Linked DNA regions of Homo sapiens: region 2 is linked to region 1. The links are contacts of gene promoters, found by promoter capture Hi-C in blood cells and fetal thymus (Javierre and others, 2016). All regions are on one chromosome and are shown on one strand. The core of a region is centred on a gene start or on the middle of the fragment in contact, and the rest is flanking DNA. Distances in the headings are between cores, read along the strand shown.

The links. Contacts are between HindIII fragments. The CHiCAGO score rates a contact against its expected background, and 5 or more counts as called.
Region 2: a fragment that was not itself captured here is called in contact with the fragment with the promoter of MITF in region 1 in 1 of 17 cell types (M2 macrophages); the score reaches 5.3 in M2 macrophages.

Annotation. Positions count from the first base shown.
Region 1 is chr3:69,737,925-69,741,386 of GRCh38, forward strand. It overlaps MITF (melanocyte inducing transcription factor), which reads left to right and starts at 1,540. Exons shown (of 10, transcript NM_001354604.2): 1 at 1,540-1,777. The coding sequence starts at 1,674. RefSeq lists a promoter at 1-1,676 and a silencer at 1,476-1,775. The HindIII fragment of the contact is 10,451 bases long and covers 1-3,462 here.
Region 2 is chr3:69,906,843-69,910,609 of GRCh38, forward strand. All of the region lies in intron 2 of MITF (melanocyte inducing transcription factor), which reads left to right. Among named protein-coding and RNA genes, the nearest start is that of SAMMSON, 91 kb to the right of the region's middle. The HindIII fragment of the contact is 1,008 bases long and covers 863-1,870 here.

The sequences.
Region 1 (3,462 bases), core at 290-2,789:
TTCAGGGGAGGGCCTAAAAGTCGTATGTTGGGGACTAATTTTTATTCTGAAAATTTGGTAATTGCTACTGCAACATAGTGTGCCTTCTGCACTTTTTCCAAATCACCTTGAGAACTCCAGCCCTAACATCGATCCATCCTACTGGATGTCTTTTCTGATGTGAAATTAAAATGTTTCAGTGGGAGGCAAGATATGCAAAGGGGTAACTCCTGGGAGGTGCCCAGTTGTCACTGTAGCCTCTTTAGAATTTTCTCCTAGGACAGTCATTTAGTTTATTAATTCTGAAAGGCCAAACACCAAAATGAGATGTTAATCTGAAAGGAATAACTTCAAGACCTAATAAAGAATGACCACTGAGCAGAGTTTTTATAGATTGCAAATCACTTTCTCTTACATTTGACCTTGCAACATCTTCTAAAACTGGTTTGCCAATCTCTTCTTTTATGGATGAAGAAATGGAGGCTTCTAGGAACCAAGTGACATGCTCAGGATTGCACAGCTCTTCTTAGAAGGACTGGGGATTTCAACTCTGAGTCTTATACCTTTAAATGCCACTGTAACTCTATACTGCCTCCCTGATGCCTCAAAACACTTTTGAAAAGAAGGAACACGTCCTACTGGAGCTAATCAGAGGGAAGAACTAGAAGTACAAATGAGCCACAACGGAGAGTTTTAAAATTCTCTTCCCTAAGTGAGTTCCGGGAAGCTCGGGAAGGGGTGGACACTTGTACAGTTCACTTGTACATCTTCACTCCTGAAATGCTAGGACAAATCTCATTTGAACTCCCAGTCAACTGAGAAATTAAAAGCAGAGAGCAACGACGCTATTTTGTAACTTTGTGCCTTTTAAAATTAACCGAATCTTTCAATTGCTGCTGTAGATTAGAAGTGGCTACTTGGATAAAGGGGAAAGAGCCATTCAACTGATGAATACTATTGTAAAAGTCCAGACTTAGTTCTAGAAAAGGAACGCACAAGAACAATTTCTCCAATAACGTTTTCATTACAGAGCGAAGGAAAGTTCTTCCTCGTTGTTCCAATCCGAGGACAAGCTGATATGTCGCAGCAGCCCAGGGAAGCATGCGAGCTGATAGGAAGTCCTTTTATTTTAAGACAGGCTCGAATGCTAAAACTTTCTTGTGCCAAAACCCTTGACTATTTTATTTTTAAAATAAGCACTTGGCGTGCCCTCGCAGATGTCTGAGCTGAGAGGTCGGGGCGATGGTAGAAGAGCAGTCAGTGTCCATTCTTATTCATATTAAGTAGCCAAGTCTGTACCCTTGAAGCAAGTGGGGAGAGAGGAGGGAGAGGAGCTGCTGACATTGACAATGAATCCAAACAGGAGTTGCACTAGCGGTGTCCACCACGTTGCCTCTCCCCCGCCTGGCCTTCTGGGAGCTGTAGTTTTCGTGGGAGCGGCTCCCCAGGCGAGCTGGGAATGCCCCGCCCGGGCCGAACTACAGATCCCAGGCGGCGCTCGGCCGCCAGCCCCTCCCGCCCGGGTGCGAGTGTAAACTCCCCGCGCTGGGGCGGGCGGCCGCGAGCCGGCGAGCGGGCAGAGCTCGGCACTGCGCCGGGGCGCACGGCTCGGGGGACCCAGGCCCAGCTACCTTCCCTCCGCCCCCGGGCTCTGTTCTCACTTTCCAGCAGTGGAAGGACGGGAAGCGGGAGCCATGCAGTCCGAATCGGGGATCGTGCCGGATTTCGAAGTCGGGGAGGAGTTTCATGAAGAGCCCAAAACCTATTACGAACTCAAAAGTCAACCGCTGAAGAGCAGGTGAGTGGTGACAGCTGGGCAGAGGCGCACCGGGCGGCTGGGGGGCACTGCGTCTGCCACTCTGGGGCGAGGAGAGCGGGTCGCGGGAGCTCTGGGACAAGGACCCAGTGCCCTTGCCCCGGAGCAGAGGGCGAACTGCCCCTCGCAGTTGGGGGCCGCGCCTGCCCGGCCCAAGTGCGCCTTTAGGAAGCTCGGATGGAGCGCACTTCGCGGGGGCGCGGCGGGTCGCCGGGGACGAAGCGTCCAGGCGCGGGGACCCTCGGCCGAGGATGCCAGCTGCTGAGACTGATTGGGGGCTGGGGAGCGACCTGGCGCGATGTGGGGGAGGAGGAGCGCCGGGCCGGGACGCTGTCCCGGTGGGATGGGGGAGAAAGAGTTCTAGTGAACCCCCTTTCTGAAGATCCCAGCGGGTTGAGGGCTCGGAGAGGGAGAGCTTTGGGTGGACTGAGATGCGACATTGGAGGGAAGCAATTAGTTCGCTTGGAGTCACCTCTTGGGAGTCCGGTCTCTGTGGGGAAACTAGCCTCTGGGCTCCTGCAGGTGAGGTTTCTCTGGGCTCCGCCTCTCACCTCCAGACCGCTGCTAGCGGGCGCGGGAGGGGCCAGGGCAGCGGTGGGCGTGTCCCCTTGTTCAAGTTAAACTCTCTGGAAATAGAGTCCCATTCAAATCCAGGCCTTACCTGCAGAGGGGAAATGAGCCTTGGTCTTGGGGGTTACTGGGAGTGTACCCCGCTTGGCAGAGACACGTGTTTAATTCGCTGGGGACTTCAGAAACTTTTTAGACGAGGAGTGAAGACATCCACTGCTCTGATGCCCCATCCCCTCTAGTGCCCACTTCCCTTGAGCCACCCTTTTTGCTGCCTCCATTCCCACTTGTCTGTCGAAATGGATTGGGTGTCTTCCGTTCTCTCTGTCCGGCAGCCACTCTGGACGCCTCGTACTTCTCGTTTACAATGTTTCCTAAAAGGGACATGGTCAATGGAGGCTGGAATAGCTGAGAAGGGTTTATTTCCACCCCTCTAAGCTGTGAGCTAGGATAAGGCTATCATTGGAAGCATCCAGCAGGGCTTCTGCACTCGGCTGTAACTTCCTGCCTTGCCCTTCGCTGTGGATGGGGCCTGGGTGAATGGGCCTGGCTGGCAGAGTGGGAGAGGGTCTTGAAATGAGGGTGAGTGGAGAAGGGCAACTGAACGGGGAGCCAAGTGGTGTAATCTTGGCCTCTGGCGAGCACTGGGCTGGTTCTTTTTCTAGTGGAAAGTGCAGCCAGGTTTATTTCCTTCAGGGCTGTGGCAGGACTCTTTATCCAAGTTGGGGAAGAAAATCTGGGAACAGCGGTCCTACTGACTGCCATTGCTGAAGACTCTTTGTAGATGCTTCACGGCAGATTGGAAGGAAACCGCCTAAGCAGTTGGACGTATAAAACCAGCCTTTAGTTGGTGGTTTTTCCTCATAATGGCTGTTTTGTGTGTGAGCATAGATTGTGTGTGTTGGGGGCTGGGGGTTTTGAGTAATATTGTGTGAAGGGTATTGTTGGTTATGCTCATCAGGGCTTTATCTGCATTCGGCTGAAGGGACCAGTGTTTTACTGGGCAGTCTCTGCTTTTGCTTCTATAAGCAAATGCTTACACGGCCAGAATGAGGGAATGAGTGTGTGTGTGGAATCCTGAAAGAAATAAATTAACCGGA
Region 2 (3,767 bases), core at 117-2,616, 170 kb after region 1:
GTTGGATGTGAATGAAAATAGGAGCTGTCAACGCACTCCCTTTCTGCTTCTTTGACCACACATCTACAACAAAAATAGCAGCTTTTTTTAATTGGCTACTTAATATATGCTGGTCACTCTGCTAAATACTTTATGTAAATTGCCCTATGTGGTACTTACATTGTCCATGTGAGGTAGGCACCATAAATCCTTGTTTTGCCTGAAGAAAGGTTTAACAAGTTACCCAAAGCTACACAACCAGAAGTAATAGAGCTAGTGTTTGATCCTCTCCCCTTTCCCTCCATAATCTTGTGTTCCTAATCGCTATGCTACAGTACCTTTGGTACTAAAGAATGAAAGGGATTCAAACTTGAAATATAACGTAAGTCGTCCATTGAGCTCTGGAACTCCTACTTTCTATGTCCAAAACTTTCCTGTCTATGATTTCTTCTGAATCACTGGATGAAAAAGTCATGTGGGTTTTAGAGATGGGGCTCTGTGTGTCAAACTGGTTGAATAAATAAATGAACGAGTTATTCATTGTATAATTCAGCACAAATCTATTGGATATCTATGTACCAGGCATTGTTATAGGTGCCAGGGATATTGCAGCAGAACAAGCAAATGAACAAACAACTCTTTCTTCATGAAAGTTATATTCTACTGGAGGAGAGACTCATGATGGACAACTTTGAGATCATGTAGATGAAATCACTTCATAAGCAGGAGGTAGTATTCTCCTCAGATCCTGGTCTAATGGCCTGTATTATGGTGCCAAAATTTGTATTTGAAATCACCCTTGATTTCAGGCAGGAGGCCTGACCTGTCTATCCCTGGTAATTTTGAGCACTGTTAAGTCTGGGTAGACCATCTGCTTTACCTAAGCTTAGATCATTGGCTCTCTTTTTCAGTAGTCTGAGGCTTTCCTCAGACCAGTCACCTCTTCACGGACATTTTAAGTGTATGAGGGCTAAGCTCCAAAACACAGTAATTGCTCTTGAGAATAAGCAGTTTTCTCTGTGAACACAAGAAAATCATATTCTGCTGGGCTCAAAGAGAGTTTCTTAAAGTTGACTCAGAAGAGGCTTAAAAACAGTAAGTGTTACAAATGGTTTTTTGAAAGGAAGAGGAAATTATTTATTTATTATTTTAAGAGTTTCATTTCAAGAATGAGGGAAGTAAACCAAAATATCCAGCTTTTTTTGTTGTTGTTTGTTTTGTTTTATTTTTCCCTAAAACTCTTTTGCAGGAAACCTTATGGGGCTTTTGCCTTTTGATCTTGCTATAGAATCTAGATGGATACATGAGACAGAAGGATACAGAAATGTTCTCAAAGTGGTTGGGCCACCCAATTAACTCTAGGGGTGTGATTCAGTTTTGTACCACTTTACATAGTGAGAAAACATTCCAGAAGGAGCTGTGCTCCCCTTGGGTGTAGGAATGTCTCTCCTGGTCTGCAATGCAGTTGAAAAGTGAAGAATAATTTCCATTTTCTGCTTTGTCTATTGAAATAAAAAGACAAAGCAAAAACAATAAAAAAAAAACTCTTCTACATCATTTATCGCTCCTTTATTTGGCAGGAGTTTTCAAACTAATATTTTCTTTTTGTACACCAGCCCCATTTTTTAAAAAGTACTGAGTAGAAGTTTTTTAAATTTGGCAATTCAAAAAATAGTTTTACTTCAACAAACTTAATGAAATCATTATTCTTTAAATATCATATGGAAATAATAGTAAGTTTTTTTTTGTTTCTTTACCACATTGATATTTGTGGTTTGTTTACCACACTGCCATTCAACCTTTGATGAACATGTGGGATGAATGAGCACTACTGGTAATAATGAAATTAGGTACAACTTTCCCATAAGAAAATTTGGCAAAATGCATCAGAAGCTTCAGTGGTTTTTATATCCTTTTATCTGGTAATTCTTCCACTTAGGATTTTTGTTCTTGTTAGAAGAAAGGAATAAGTGACAATCTGAGAATATTTGTCCCTACGTGAGCTAACACAGTCTTTTAAGATTTGTATTAAGGTTAGTTCCTTTGCACCTATCAGTTTTGCTTTTAAGTTGAGATTATTTATGTTTGTTTTATTTATGTGAAATAAGTCCTTAGAAAATATCTTTGATGCTTATAGTTATAGGATATAGTGATTTCCTTTACCAGCTGCTAAGTTCTATTAGGTTTTTTTGTTTGTTTGTTTTTTAAAGACATGGTGATACGGCTTGGCTGTGTCCCCAACCAAATCTCAACTTGAATTGTGTCTCCCAGAATTCCCACATGTTGTGGGAAGGACCCGGGGGGTTGGTAATTGAATCATGAGGGCTGGTCTTTCCCATGTGGTTCTCATGATAGTGAATGGATAAGTCTCACGAGATCTGATGGGTTTATCAGGGGTTTCTGTTTTTGCTTCCTCCTCATTTTCTCTTGCCACCACCATATAAGTGCCTTTTACCTCCTGCCATGATTCTGAGGCCTTCCCAGCCATGTGGAACTGTAAATCCAATTAAACCTCTTTTTCCTCCCAGTCTCAGGTAAGTCTTTATCAGCAGTGTGAAAATGGACTAATAGAGTAAATTGGTACCAGCAGAGTGGGGTGTTGCTGAAACGATACCCAAAAATGTGGAAGCGACTTTGGAATTGTGTAACAGGCATAGGTTGGAACAGTTTGGAGGGCTAGGAAGGAGACAGAAAAATGTGGGAAAGTTTGGAACCTCCAAGACACTTGTTGAATGGCTTTGACTAAAATTCTGATAGTGATATGAACAATAAGGCCCAGGCTGAGGTGGTCTCAGATGGAGATGAGGAACTTGTTGGGAACTGGAGCAAAGGTGACTCTTGTTATGTTTTAGCAAATAGACTGGCAGCATTTTTCCCTGCCCTAGAGATTTGTGGAACTTTGAAACTTGACAGAGATGATTTAGGGTATCTGGCGGAAGAAATTTCTAAGCAGCAAAGTATTCAAAAGGTGACTTTGGGTGCTGTTAAAACCATTCCATTTTAAAAGGAAAACAGAGCATAAAAGTTCAGAAAATTTGCAGCCTGATGATGCAGTAGAAAAGAAAAACCCATTTTTTCAGGAGAAATTCAAGCTGGCTTCAGAAATTTGCATAAGTAGCAAGGAGCCTAATGTTAATCCCCAAGATCATGGGGAAAATGTCTCCAGGCCATGTCAGAGACCTTCATGGCAGCCCTTCCCATCACAGGCCTGGAGGCCCAGGAGGAAAAAGTGGTTCCAAGTGCCATTCCCAGCACAATCCCTGTGCTGTGTGCAGTCTAGGGACTTGGTGCCCTGTGTCCCAGCCTCTCCAACTGTGGCTGAAAGGGGCCAACATAGAGCTTGGGCTATGGCTTCAGAGGTTGGAGGCCCCAAACCTTGGCAGCTTCCATGTGGTGTTGAGCCTGCATGTGCAGAGAAGTCAGGAATTGAGGTTTGGGAACCTTTGTCCAGATTTCAGAAGATGTATGGAAATGCCTGGATGCTCAGGCAAAAGTTTGCTATAGGGGTGGGGCCCTCATGGAGAACCTCTGCTAGGGCAGTGCAGAAGAGAAATGTGGGGTTGGAGCCCCCACATAGAGTCCCTAGTGGGACACTGCCTAGTGGAGCTGTGAGAAGAGGGCCACTATCCTCCATACCCCAGAATGGTAGATCCACTGACAGCGTGAAGTGTGAGCTTGGAAAAACCTCAGACACTCAATGCCAGCCCATGAAAACAGTCAGGAGGGAGGCTCTACCCTGCAAAGCCACAGGGGCAGAGCTGCCCAAGACCATAGGAACCCACCTTTTG